Regions from separate parts of the Homo sapiens genome. Here regions 1 and 3 are each linked to region 2. Evidence: promoter capture Hi-C in 16 types of primary human blood cells and fetal thymus (Javierre and others, 2016). All regions are on one chromosome and are shown on one strand. Each heading gives the region's core, a stretch centred on a gene start or on the middle of the fragment in contact. The rest is flanking DNA. Distances are from core to core; before and after follow the strand shown. Region 1 overlaps EFCAB12 (EF-hand calcium binding domain 12). Region 2 holds the start of RHO (rhodopsin). Region 3 has its middle 39 kb from the start of PLXND1.

Region 1 (4,558 bases), core at 438-2,937, 120 kb after region 2:
CTTCCCTATCTTAGTGCACCTGAAGGGAAAGGAATGTGCTTATTAAGGCCCACAGTTTTACTGGGGCCCATTGTATGAGGGTGAAGTTTGGCAGTCACCCAAGAGACTTTCCCCCGACCTCCCTCTGTGCCTGAGCTGTCTTGTCTGTGTTTTACTGTCTGCTCTTTCTGGCTGCTTATAGTTAGAAGAGAAGTGATTTCCTTGAAATGCATGAGGCTAGAAAGGGAGCTGGAACTTAAAGTGGCGGTGTTTGTCCCAGATGACGGTGCTCCTGCTCTGTCCGGGTGTCTCTCACTTTGTCTAAAGAGGCAAGAGTTTGAGCGTCTTGGCAGGGGTGCCTTCTTCCAGTAGTTCTTCTTGCAGTAGCTCTTCTTCATTCTTGCAGAATGATCTCAGTTTATCCTTTATGTCCGCAGAGGTCAGGATTGCTATTCCTGCTTTACGAGGAGGAAGCTGGAGCTCAGAGAGGCTGAGCCACTTGTTCACAGCCTCAATAGAAGGTGGTAAGGTCAGGATATTATTTCAGCTTGAGACGATGAAGGTCTGAACCAGGGCAGGGACAATGGGATTCTTTCATTCATTGGAATCTTTGTTGAGCAACTACTATGTGCCACTTCTAGAAACTGGGAACACAGCAGTGGGCCAGCCAAAGCCCCAGCTTTCGATGAGCTTGCACCTAAAGGGCTGGTGGTCAGGGACGGCCTCTCTGAGAAGCAGACATTGGAGCTGACATCTGAGTGATTGACAGGAACTAGTCTTGGGGGAAGCACAATCTAGGCAGATAGAACTGTGAAGGCAAAGGCCCTGGGGTAGGATAGCTTGCAAGAGACAGAAGGTGGTCAGGGTGGCTGGGTGGAATGGGTGAAGGGTGAATGGTATGCCATGGACCAGGTGGGAAGGCAGCTGAGGCCAGATGGTACAGCAGGGCCTTGTAGCCCAGGGAGAGGACTCTGGGTTTTGGTCTAAATGCTGTGGGAAGCCAAGGGAATGAGGCGATCTGGTCGGTCGGTCAGTCTGTCTATCTATCTATCTATCTATCTATCTATCTATCTATCTATCTATCTATCCATCCATCTACACATATCCAACATAAGGAGACTCATGCAATGGGGTCTCCTTATGTTGCCTAGGCTGGAGTGAAGTGGCTATTCACAGGTGTGATCATAGCTTACTGCAGCCTCAAATTCCTGGGCATAAGCAATCCTCCCACTTCAGCTTCCTGAGTAGCTAGAACCACAGGCGTGCCACTGCACCCTGCTTTATATATGTGTATATATATTTTTGGGGGGGGATGGAGTCTTGCTCTGCCATCCAGGTTTGAGTGCAGTGGTGTGATCTCTTCTCACTGCAACCTCCACCTCCCGGGTTCAAGCAATTCTCCTGTCTCAGCCTCCCAAGTAACTACTACAGGTGCACACCACTGCACCCGGCTAATTTTTGTATTTTTAGTAGAGATGGGGTTTCACCATATTGGTCAGGCTGGTCTTGAACTACTGACCTCAGCTGATCCACTCGCCTCAGCCTCCCAAAGTACCCTGCTCTATATTTTTTGTTTGTTTGTTTTTGAGAGGGAGTCTCACCGTGTCACCCAGGCTGGAGTGCAGTGGCACGATCTCGGCTCACTGCAACCTCCAGGTCCCAGGTTAAAGCAATTCTGCCTCAGCCTCCCGAATAGCTGGGACTACAGGCACGTGCCACCATGCCCGGCTAATTTTTTGTATTTTTAGTAGAGACGGGGTTTCACAGTGTTAGCCAGGATGGTCTCGATCTCCTGACTTCATGATCCGCCCTCCTCGGCCTCCCAAAGTGCTGGGATTACTGGCGTGAGCCACCGCGCCTGGCTATACTCTATATTTTTTAAAGATCCTATTTGCTGCTTGGTGAGACAGGGTGACAGGACGAGAATGGCAACCAGAGGGCTGGGGTTGGTGCAGTAAGGGACGCCATTAGTGGAGATGGAGAGGAGGGCCACATCTAAGGTACAGCTTAGGTGGCTTAGGTGGGCACTGCCCAGACGTGTGGGAAGGGAGCGGAGGGGTGGCCTGGTGCCTGCTGGGTGACACTGGATAACTGCTTGGCAGGTTCCGTGGCTGGGCACCCTCTTAGTCCCTCCTTCCTTCATCTCTTCCCTCTGACTCCAGATTATATCTTGGCCAAGCACAGAGATTCCCTGAAGGGTCCGCTCAAGAAGCAGGAGGTGGATTCAGCCCCACAGCTTCCCAAAGTGGACCTACTGACGGTGCCTGCAGTCGACACGCAGATGGAGACGCGGCCCATGACCCTGGAGGAGATGGAGGAAGTGGGCAAGCGGTACCGCGAGCGGCAGCGACAGCACAAGGTACCTCGCCAGCCCAAGGAGAGCATGCGGCTTGGGGACTGGAGCAGCTGGGGTTCAGATCACCGCAGCAGCACCACCCGCTGGCTGCAGAACCCTGGGGAGGGGGGTCTTCGCCTCTACAACCACCCCTTCTTCACGTCCCTCATCTGTAAAATAAGAACAATACCTGCCTCCTGAGGTTTTTGTAAAATGTAGTAAGATCCTGTTTCTGAAACTATCACGTCCCCCTCTCCCTATTCTTTAATTATGACTTTTCATCCTTAGACCAGGCCTGCATTTTCATCACAGCTGGAATCCAGGCACCTGGCACAGGGCCTGACACTGGGTAGACTCTCCAGAAATACATGGCAAGTGAAGGAAGGATTGATTGCATGAATTAGCTTGTCCAGTAAACATTTATTGAGAGCCTACCATGTGCCAGGCACTCTTCCGGGTGTTATAGTAAGCATAACAGTCCCTGCCCCTAGGAAGCTGACAGTCTGGTAAGGGAGGCAGACAACATCAATACAATACTACATATAAATATTCATATATAATATAGTCTGGGAGTGGTGTCTCGCACCTGTTAGCCCAGCGCTTTGAGAGGCCAAGGTAGGAGGACTGCTTAAGCCCAGGAGTTCGAGGCCATCCTAGGCAACATAGGGAGATCCTGTCTCTACAAAAAATTTAGAAAGTTAGCCTGGGGTGATGGCATGTGCCTGTGGTCCCAGCTACTCAGGAGGCTGAGGTGAGAGGACTGCCTGAGCCCAGGAGGTTGAGACTGAAGTGAGCTAAGATCGCACCACTGGACTCCAGCCGAGGGGAAAGAGCAAGATCTTGTCTCAAAAAAAAAAAAAAAATTATATACAGGCCAGGTGCAGTGGCTCATGCCTGTAATCCTAGCAATTTGGGAGGCCAAAGTAGGAGGATCACTTGAGGCCAGGAGTTTGAGACCAGCCTGGGCAACACAGCAAGGCCCCGTCTCTACACAAAATTTTTAAAAAATTAGCCAGCATGGTGGCATGTGCCTGTGGCTGCACCTACTGAAGAGGCTGAGGCCAGAAGATGGCTTGAACCTGGGAGGCCAAGGCTGCAGTGAGCTATTACTGCACAGTACACCCCAGCCCAGGCTACAGAGTGAGACCGTGTCTCTAAAAAAAAAAATAAATAAATAAACACAAATATATATATAATTAAAAATACATATTTGTATTTATACCTATAATATTTGTATTTGTACATATAATAAAATGGCAGATATTGCTAAGTGCTATATCTACTAAGATTTGATTCAGTTGCATGACAAGAAAACCCAAAATGTTTGAGCAGGGACCAGCAAAGTTCCCCTGTAAAGGGCCAGATAGTAAACATTTTAGGCCTGGTGAGCCATGTCTTGTCTGTCGCAACTACTCAGCTCTGTGTTGCAGCAGGAAAGCAGCCACAGACAGCACCTTAACAAATGAGTGTGGCTGTGCTCCAACAAAACTTTATAAAAACAGCTGGTGGGCCAGATTTGGCTCATGGGCTGGTCTTTGCTGATTCTGGTTTTAGAAGCTTTAAAAGTTAGGGTTTTTTTTTCCTTGTTAAAAAACAAGGTGGTGGCAGCCAACAAAAGCAGCTACCTGCTCCGCCAGCCTCCTCCTATCTTAGCTCATGGCTTTCACCTCAAGGTCACAGATGGCTACTCCTAATTTAAATGTCACTTTTCTTTTCTTCTCTTCTTTTCTTTTCTTTTTTTGAGACAGTCTCACTCTACTGCCCAGGCTGGAGTGCAGTGGCTTGATCTTGGCTCACTGCAGCCTCAACTTCCCGGACTCAAGCCATCATTCCACCTCAGCCTCCTGAGAAGCTGGGACTACAGGCGCGCGCCACCATGCCCAGCTAATTTTTTTGTAGAGACAGAGTTTTGCCATGTTGCCCAGGCTGATCTCGGACTCCTGGGCTCAAGTTATCCTCCTGCCTCGGCCTCCCGAAGTGCTGGGATGACAGGTGTGAGCCATCTTGTGGCCCCGCGAATGTCCTTTTTCAATAGGACGCCTCTAGGGCATGTGTACTGTGTTTTACCATATATGTTACACAGTCATGTGTGCACTCCTGCACACCCGTCTACAGGGCTGTGACTTCAGAACCTGAGCTTCTGAACCTGAAGTCTTCACTGACTTCAGAACCGGAACTGCAGCCCCACTGGACGTTGGTTGCCATCACCCCTCATGGGGACCTCGCAGGGGAGAGGTCGATGAG
Region 2 (4,013 bases), core at 389-2,888:
ATGAAGTTCCATAGGGAGAGTGGCCATATAGTTAATCAACCAAACTGGGACATTCCTAACAGTGAAAGGGACAATATTTGTAAACTGGGACTGACCCTGCAGAGAACAACCACCCGTAAGTGGCACACCCACCTTCTGGCCAGAACTGAGTGATCTGTGATTATTGAATGCAACAAACACCCAACAATGGCCAGAGATTCCCTGAGAATGGGACCGAGGCAGCAGCCTGGACATGGGGGAGACAGGGCAAGGCTGGCAGAGAGACGCTTGTGGCTGGCGGTAAGCTCTCCCCGTCACCCAGCTTTGCAATGGCTGCTTCTAGCGTCTCCTCCTGCATCTCAGCAGAGATATTCCTGGATCACAGCCAGGAGACCTAGGCTCTTGTTGCTGCCTGGCCACATCCCTAAATGAGTCTCTTCCCCTCTCCCTGCCTCAGTTTTCCTCTCTGTTAAGTGGGATCTGTTATCCCTGCAGCACCCCATCTGTTTTCCTGTTAAATGCAAGACATTATTCTAAAGCAAAAAGGAACTGCTTCAGAGCGGCTGCTTGCGGTTCTCAACACCAGGAGACTTGGAACGCGGCAGGGAGGCTGGAGGGGCACCTGAGGACAGGGGCTGAGAGGGGAGGCAGAGGATGCCAGAGGGGACCGAGCCCATTGCCCAGCACAGGGAAGACCCAATGACTGGAGAATGGAAAATCCACTTCCCACCCTGAGCTTGGGCCCCCAGAGAGGAGGGGTCTGGCTTGCCCAGCTCTCCCTCAGTGCCCAGCCTGGGTCTGACTCAGCACAGCTGCTCCAAGGGAAACAGAGGCTTGGTGCTGCAAACATGGCCCGAGATAGATGCGGGCTTCCAACTCAACTCTGCACCCGTCCCTGTGTGACGCCCCAGCAGGGCGCTTGACTTCTTTGAGCCTCAGCTCAGTTTTCTTGCTGTGAAATTAGACAAGCGCATATTGCTCCAAATAAGATCAAGGCAGTGTTCAGTGCCAGCCCTGCACAAACAGCAGCCCGGCTATCACCATGAATGGTGTTTGTTGACTGAATATATGAGGGCTTTGGATAACATTGACAGGACAGGAGAAGGGAGAAGGCCTCTCAGCCACCACCGCCAAGCCCGGGACTCTCCCAGACCCCTCCATGCTCCCGGGCTCCTGCACACCCCACCCACACCCGGCTCATACCGCCCAGGGTGGCAAAGAAGCCCTCCAAATTGCATCCTGTGGGCCCGAAGACGAAGTATCCATGCAGAGAGGTGTAGAGGGTGCTGGTGAAGCCACCTAGGACCATGAAGAGGTCAGCCACGGCTAGGTTGAGCAGGATGTAGTTGAGAGGCGTGCGCAGCTTCTTGTGCTGGACGGTGACGTAGAGCGTGAGGAAGTTGATGGGGAAGCCCAGCACGATCAGCAGAAACATGTAGGCGGCCAGCATGGAGAACTGCCATGGCTCAGCCAGGTAGTACTGTGGGTACTCGAAGGGGCTGCGTACCACACCCGTCGCATTGGAGAAGGGCACGTAGAAGTTAGGGCCTTCTGTGCCATTCATGGCTGTGGCCCTTGTGGCTGACCCGTGGCTGCTCCCACCCAAGAATGCTGCGAAGGCCTGAGCTCAGCCACTCAGGGCTCCAGCTGGATGACTCTGGGTTCTGACCCCCCCAGACCCTTATAAAGTGACCTCCCCCTCCTAAGCTCCTGGCTGAATCAGCATCTGGGAGATTGGGGGTGTTCATAATCATATTAATCCCCGCTGCAGAAACTGAGGGCCTAATTGGCTTCTAAGAGGGGCCAAGGTGACACTAGGAGGAAGCCTGAGGTCAGGGAGGAGAGGTACTCAGGATCCAGGAAAAGGGAGGAGAAGGTCCCCTAACTTCTGCATGACTTGTCTGTCCCAAGGTCCCAGCTCAGTCTGGTGGCCTGGGTTTGAAATAGGGACCATGGGCCTCTGTGCTATGTCCTCTGGACAGCTAGAGACTTTCTGGTTTATTCTCCCAGTCTCTCATCTCGTCACACAGCCCCTTACCTGTTCGTTCCCCCACAAGTTACCTCTGGAGTCATCCAGTCCCCACACTCCTCTGACAGGAGGAGCTCCATGAGGGCAGGGGCTGCAACCTGCAGCTTCCGTTTCTGGTGCCAGACACATAGCCTAGGGCCCAGGAGCCCAATCCTTGTTGCATGGAATTGGAATTCACTCTCTTGTTCGTTCATTAAACATTTATTTGCAGGCCCCTGGGAATACAAAGATGGAAAGAAACAGCCCTGCCCAGAGGAGCTCAGGGGCTGAGGAGGACTCAAATGTGGGAAGAAGCAGATTCCGTCCAGGGTGGCTGTGAGGTTGTGGAGACAGGGCCTGACTGCCTGGGGGTTGCAGTCTGGGAGGCCATGTTTGGGCCTTTGAGAGAAGGAGCAGTTTGCCAGGTGGCTAGGTGGGGAAGATCTGGGCTGGGGGCAGTTGTAATGGGTCTTGAACGCTAGGCCGGGGAACCTGGCTTTATCCAGAGGAAAGTGAGCAGTGGCTTGGGCAGATCACTGGTGTAGAAAGGTGACTCAAATGCCCCCAAAGATGGAGTGGAGGGAGGGAGGATGGAGGGGGCTACCAGAGCAGGGGAGGGGCAGAACCCTTCAGGGGACTCCAGTCTGAAGGGGAGGCTGGCCCTGGAGGCAGCAGACAGGGCACTGTTGGGGGAGGCCTAATCAGCCACGAGGGCCTCAAATGCCATGTACCAGGTGGCCCCACGAGGGCCGATTCCAGAATAGCAGGATGTACCGTGAGAAAGAAAGTAGTCAGAGCCTTGGGGGCAGATGACTGGGGGAAAATGGAGGCCAACACTGGCAGGTCCCCCTCTCCCCGTCGTCCAAGCAACATGATGACACCTCCCAGGAATGAAGTGGGGTGTCTGGGGCGGCCTGTGCAAGTGCTGAGAGTGCCCGACGTGCGGCCGCTCAGTGACCACTGTCCAGCCAACATGTGTATTGAGCACCTACTGTGGCCCAGACAAGGTGCTTGGTCCTTGGGGACACACAGGGTACACGAAAGAGCAAGCTCCTGCTCACAAGAAGCCAGTGTTTTTGTGGGGTGAGGGGGCACAGGGACCACAAACAAATAGAAGAGCGAATAACAGTAGGGACAGTTCAGTCGCAGCCACTCCCAACACAGGAGGCTTCTCTGAGAAGCTGGAGCTTGAGCTGAGAACGGAACAACAGGAGGAAGCTTCAGGGGAAGGACATCCAGGCGGAAGGACCCCTGAGAGTGCAAAGCCCTGATGCCTGGGAAATATCCCTTAATCTCTCTCTCACTGTCTCTCTTCCCACCCAGGATTCCCAGATCTGTCTGCTCAGAAGAGTGCCCCCTTCCCTGCAGCCCACCTGGGCTCCAGCCCCCTACCTGGCCTGGGTGGTGTTGGGTCTAACAGCGTTTGGCACACGTGGCAGGGCTAAGGCAGGGCGGGTGGGATGGGGCCTCTCGTAGTTTAAGGCGCTTGGCCTGGTGATTATGCCCAACGCTAATGAGGTTAAGGTGAGGGTTTGATTCTGACGTGGACCCTCATGGCCAGAAGGAGGGTGTCCTGGATGCCTTGGGTCAAGACTGACCCACAACTGGCCCCTCCCTGGCCGGGCTGAGCCCCCATCCCACACAGCTTAGCAGTACCTCAGCATCTTGCTTTTTGCATAGTGCTTCTGACAGCATGGAAGCTTTTTATTTGTGTTTTGTGCCCGTCTCCCTGCCTGTAACATGAGTCCACAAGGGTAAGCCTGGGTCTGTCTTGCTCACAACAGGGTTCCCAGAGACCAGCATGGTGCTTGGCCTGTAGTGGAAAGAGGTGGGATGATGTCTGTTTTGTTCACTGATGTGTCTCCAGGGCCTGGCACCTAGAAGGTGCTCCTGAATATTTGTTGAATGAACGAGTGAGTGGGGGAATGGACCTAGATGATCTCAGTACTTCCCCTCTCTGTCTCAGGTTCCTCCTTTGTGAGTTTCACAATTGCAACCTCATGGAGCCCTGGTGATGGGGAACTAA
Region 3 (4,467 bases), core at 1,515-4,014, 120 kb before region 2:
TGATACCACACCACCCAACTTGATCCTACAGGTGGATGTTGTGAGAGCAAGGGATACATCTTGTGAAATCTTTGAAAATTCCCCTTAAAATATGGGCCAGGCTGCCATGTACAGATATGCAGGTTGTATATTGCCCAACCCTGCGGGGGCTTCATAAGTCTGATAAACTGTGAACAACATCCAGGAGTTGTGTAGTGCATACGGGACACATAGAGCTGCCATGATAATGGGCGATACATAATTTCAAAACCTGCTTTATTTTTATCCTTTAAAAACCTTGGAGACTTACTGAATGCCAGTAAAAACTGGGTGTGGTGGCTCTCACACCTGTAATCCCAAAACTTTGGGAGGACAAGGTTGGAGGATTACTTGAGGCCAGGAGTTTGATACCAACCTGGGCAACATAGTGAGACCCCTATCTCTACAAAAAATAAATTTAGCTAGGTGTGGTGGCAGGCACCTGTAGTCCCAGCTACTCAGGAGGCTGAGGTGATAGCATCACTCGAGCCCAGGAGTTTGAGATTACAGTGAGCTATGATTACACCACTGCACTCTAGGCTAGGTGGCAGAGCGAGACCCTGTCTCAAAAAAAGAAAACTTCAGAGAGTGGAAGGCAGATGACATAAATTTGAGAAGCTGTGGTGTAGAAAACAGATTGGGGAGGCAGAGGAAGGTATGGTCAACTAGAAATGCATGCTTCACCTGAAGGGTTCAAATATACTTAAATCCTATGGTCCAAACTAAACATTTAGCTGACTTGTAGCCCCAAGTCTATAGTGAAGAATAGCTAACGTTTATTGAGTATTTACTGAGTGCCAGACATCATTCAGTTTTATCAGTCAATTCTCCCCCACAGTCTTATGCAGGAGATATCCTCATTGTTTAGGTAAGAACTCTGAAGCTTGGGTTAAATGGCTTGCCCAAAATTAATGTTAGGAAATGGTAAATTAATGCAATGGAAAATAGGTCTATGCGACATATATAACAAAAAATGAGCGTCCACAATATTTAAGACTACAAATCAATAATCATCTTTCCTATTGGTAACAGCTCAATAGAAAAGACAGGCAATAGTTATAAACAGAGAGCTTATAGAAAAATGACCAATAAGCGGCTGGGCGCGGTGGCTCACGCCTGTAATCCCAGCACTTTGGGAGGCTGAGGCGGGTGGATCACGAGGTCAGGAGATCGAGACCATCCTGGCTAACATGGTGAAACCCCGTCTCTACTAAAAAGACAAAAAAATTAGCCGGGCATGGTGGTAGGCGCCTGTAGTCCCAGCTACTCGGGAGGCTGAGGCAGGAGAATGGCGTGAACCCAGGAAGCGGAGCTTGCAGTGAGCCGAGATGGTGTCGCTGCACTCCAGCAGCCAGGGCGACAGAGCGAGACTCTGTCTCAAAAAAAAAAAAAGAAAAGAAAAATGACCAATAAGCATACCAGAAAATTGTTCAGCCTCCTGTATAATCAGTGCATTAAGATTTAAAAAGCCAACTGTGGAACAATATATTGTCTCCCATTTATGTTGAGAATATGTATATTTGTGTAAATATATGCATGTGGATGTGTAAAAACTTTGCATTAAACTTTCCCGTTATTTTGGGAAGGGAGAGGGAGGAACAGTGGTTAAGCAGCACTTTCATGCTTGGCTTCTATAAAGTATGAATCTCTTTGAAGAAAATGTATTTGTGTATTTTTTAAATTAAATATATCAAAAACTTAAAAATAGGTCCAGTGAGAAGTGAAAAAAGAATTGATAGTGTTCCTAATGACAGATCATACTAGACCATCTTTTGCCTCCAGATTGCCTTAGAGGGGGCTCTAGACCAAGTTTGGGCCACCCCTTGAGCTTTCTTCCAGCCCTGGATTTCTAGGCTTGGGGGTCACATAGATGTCCCGCTGCCAGAAGCCCTGCGGGCTGAGAAGGAGGAGCACGTGCAGAGGTGACAGCAGCAGCTGGTACCTCCTATTTAGCCAGCAGCACTTAAGAGCCACTCTATACAAGACTGGGCTGTGGAAAAAGGAACTTAGTAGAATGAAATACATGTGGTAAAGAGGCAGAAGACGTGTGGGAGCAAAGAGGAGGAAGCAATTCTAACAGAGCAATAGGGAAAGGCTCAACGGAGGAGGCCATGGTATCTGGACTGAAAGATGGTGGCTTTATGATGAGCAGAAATAGGTGAGGGGGCATTTCTATTGGAGGTATTAGCAAAACCACAGAGGTGAAAACGGCCTAGGTGAGCAGTTCAAGCAATGGATAAGGAGCCTTAAGTGACTGGTAGGGTGCCTGAAAGAATGTGTGAGAATCATATGTGGGGGCCAAGTTGCAAGAAATCTTGAATACCACGCTAAAGGTTTACCTTGTGACTACAAGAGAAGCCATTACAGGTGTTGAAAGGTGACCCAGCCTTCTGTTTAATTACAGCCCTTTGAGAAGAAACCAGAAACCTGTTTTTCAGGTCATCCCAATCAGTTGGGTGTTTGAGGAATGGTGTCCAAGGTATTTGGTCTTTTGCCTATTGATCCTGTAAGTAGAGGCTCTTCACAGTTTTTTGATAAGTGGAAAAAGGGTGTAGGCAACTCAGAGTTCAGTTCTTTTAAAAAAAAAAAATCCCTGGGCCAGGCGCTGTGGCTCACGCCTGTAATCCCAGCACTTTGGGAGGCCGAGGCAGGCGGATCACGAGGTCAAGAGATGGAGACCATTCTGGCCAACATGGTGAAACCCCGTCACTACTAAAAGTACAAAAATTAGCTGGGCGTGGTGGCACTCACCTGTAGTCCCAGCTACTTGGGAGGCTGAGGCAGGAGAATTGCTTGAACCTGGGAGGCGGAGGTTGCAGTGAGCCGAGATCACGCCACTGCACTCCAGCCTAGCGACAGAGCAAGACTCCATCTCAAAAAAAAAAAAAAAATCCCTGTCACCTTTGGTATTACAATCCTTAAATCCCAGAGCAAGAGTACTTGACAAAATTTATTCATGCTTCTGTCTTACTGAATGTTTAAGCTGTTCAAGAGAATATTCTTTATCTGTTGAAAGAATTCAGTTCAATAGTTTTCGAGACTGTATTAAAAGGTGCAACAAATCATGATGAAAATGAATTATGTTAAATTTTGCCTAAAGCTGCTTCTGTACATATCTTAAGTTTGGCCTAAAGGTTTCTCCATACATAGGGAACTGTAACCTAGCCAGGCATAAGCAGATTGGAACCTACTCTTGTAACGAGTAGCCAAGTCTCCGCCAATCACAGCAGCCGAACTTCAGTCAACCACAGGCAGCCAACTGTTGAAATAAGGTACAAGCCCAGAATAAGTTTAACAAGAATAAGTGAGGTCTGCATACCTCACTTCAATTTTTTATACACCACTTGCCTTTTTCTGTCCATAAATGTTACTTAGCCATATGGCAGCCCCAGACTCTCACTGACCTGTCCTGGTCTTAGGGGCTGCCCAATTCATGAATCATTCTTTGTTAAATTTAACTTGTCTAAAGTTTTTATTTTAAGTATTTTATTTTATTTTATTTCATCTCATTTTATTTTGACAGAGTCTTGCTCTGTCGCCCAGGCTGGAGTGCAGTGGCACGATCTTGGCTCACTGCAACCTCCATCTCCCAGGTTCAAGTGATTCTCCTGCCTCAGCCTCCCAAGTAGCTGGGATTATAGGCCTGTGCCACCACACCGAGCTAATTTTTTGTATTTTTTAGTAGAGACGGGGTTTCACCATGTTGGCCAGGCTGGTCGCTGGTCTCGAACTCCTGACCTCAGGTGATCCACCCACCTCAGCCTCCCAAAGTGCTGGGATTATAGGCATGAACCACCGCGCCTGGCCTCTTTTAAGAATTTTAATAACCACTTTACCTTAACAGAAGGTTGTGAAGGTTATGAGGATTAAATGAAAATTGTACAGAGCCTAGCCCAGCATCTGGCAAGAGAAAGTGCTATACCATGATCTTGATTATTAGTAGACTGAGAATTCCTAGAGGACAGGCACCTGTGTCACTCATCTAACTCTCTTCAGAATATAGCACATCTCCCATTCTTACCAACGAAGAGCCCAGTAGCCAGAATTTGGGCTATCCTCAGCCAGCCCTGGCTCTTAAGTTGGTTTGGGGAACCAAAAAATCAGTATGTGTCAGAGAATGGGCTGGCCATGGGGACAAGAAAAGAATATCGTGTCCATAAGAACAAAAACTCGCAAATGGGGCCAGGCACAGTGGCTCACGCCTGTAATCTCAACACTTTGGGAGGCCAAGGCAGGTGGATTGGTTGAGGCCCAGAGTTCAAGACTAGCCTGGGCAACATAGACTCTATCTCAAAAACAAAACAAAACGAAACAAAAAAGCCTTTGCGAGTGAATACACATATAATTGGCTGATAATCTATTTTACTTATAATTTCTTAACCAGCACAGTGACAGGGACGTTGTCAGTTTGTGGCTATGTCCTAAGTGCCTGAAACAATGCCTGGCCCA

The links. Contacts are between HindIII fragments. The CHiCAGO score rates a contact against its expected background, and 5 or more counts as called.
Region 1: a fragment that was not itself captured here is called in contact with the fragment with the promoter of RHO in region 2 in 1 of 17 cell types (endothelial precursors); the score reaches 5.1 in endothelial precursors.
Region 3: a fragment that was not itself captured here is called in contact with the fragment with the promoter of RHO in region 2 in 1 of 17 cell types (M2 macrophages); the score reaches 5.1 in M2 macrophages.

What each region holds. Positions count from the first base shown.
Region 1 is chr3:129,408,938-129,413,495 of GRCh38, reverse strand. EFCAB12 (EF-hand calcium binding domain 12) reads left to right here. Exons shown (of 9, transcript NM_207307.3): 5 at 2,142-2,338. Among named protein-coding and RNA genes, the nearest start is that of SNORA7B, 14 kb to the right of the region's middle. RefSeq lists an enhancer at 2,213-2,713. The HindIII fragment of the contact is 4,372 bases long and covers 1-3,873 here.
Region 2 is chr3:129,526,264-129,530,276 of GRCh38, reverse strand. RHO (rhodopsin) reads right to left here and starts at 1,638. Exons shown (of 5, transcript NM_000539.3): 1 at 1,183-1,638. The coding sequence starts at 1,543. RefSeq lists enhancers at 236-961, 962-1,687 and a silencer at 3,885-4,013. The HindIII fragment of the contact is 8,320 bases long and covers 1-3,207 here.
Region 3 is chr3:129,643,005-129,647,471 of GRCh38, reverse strand. No RefSeq gene overlaps it. Among named protein-coding and RNA genes, the nearest start is that of PLXND1, 39 kb to the right of the region's middle. The HindIII fragment of the contact is 3,721 bases long and covers 904-4,467 here.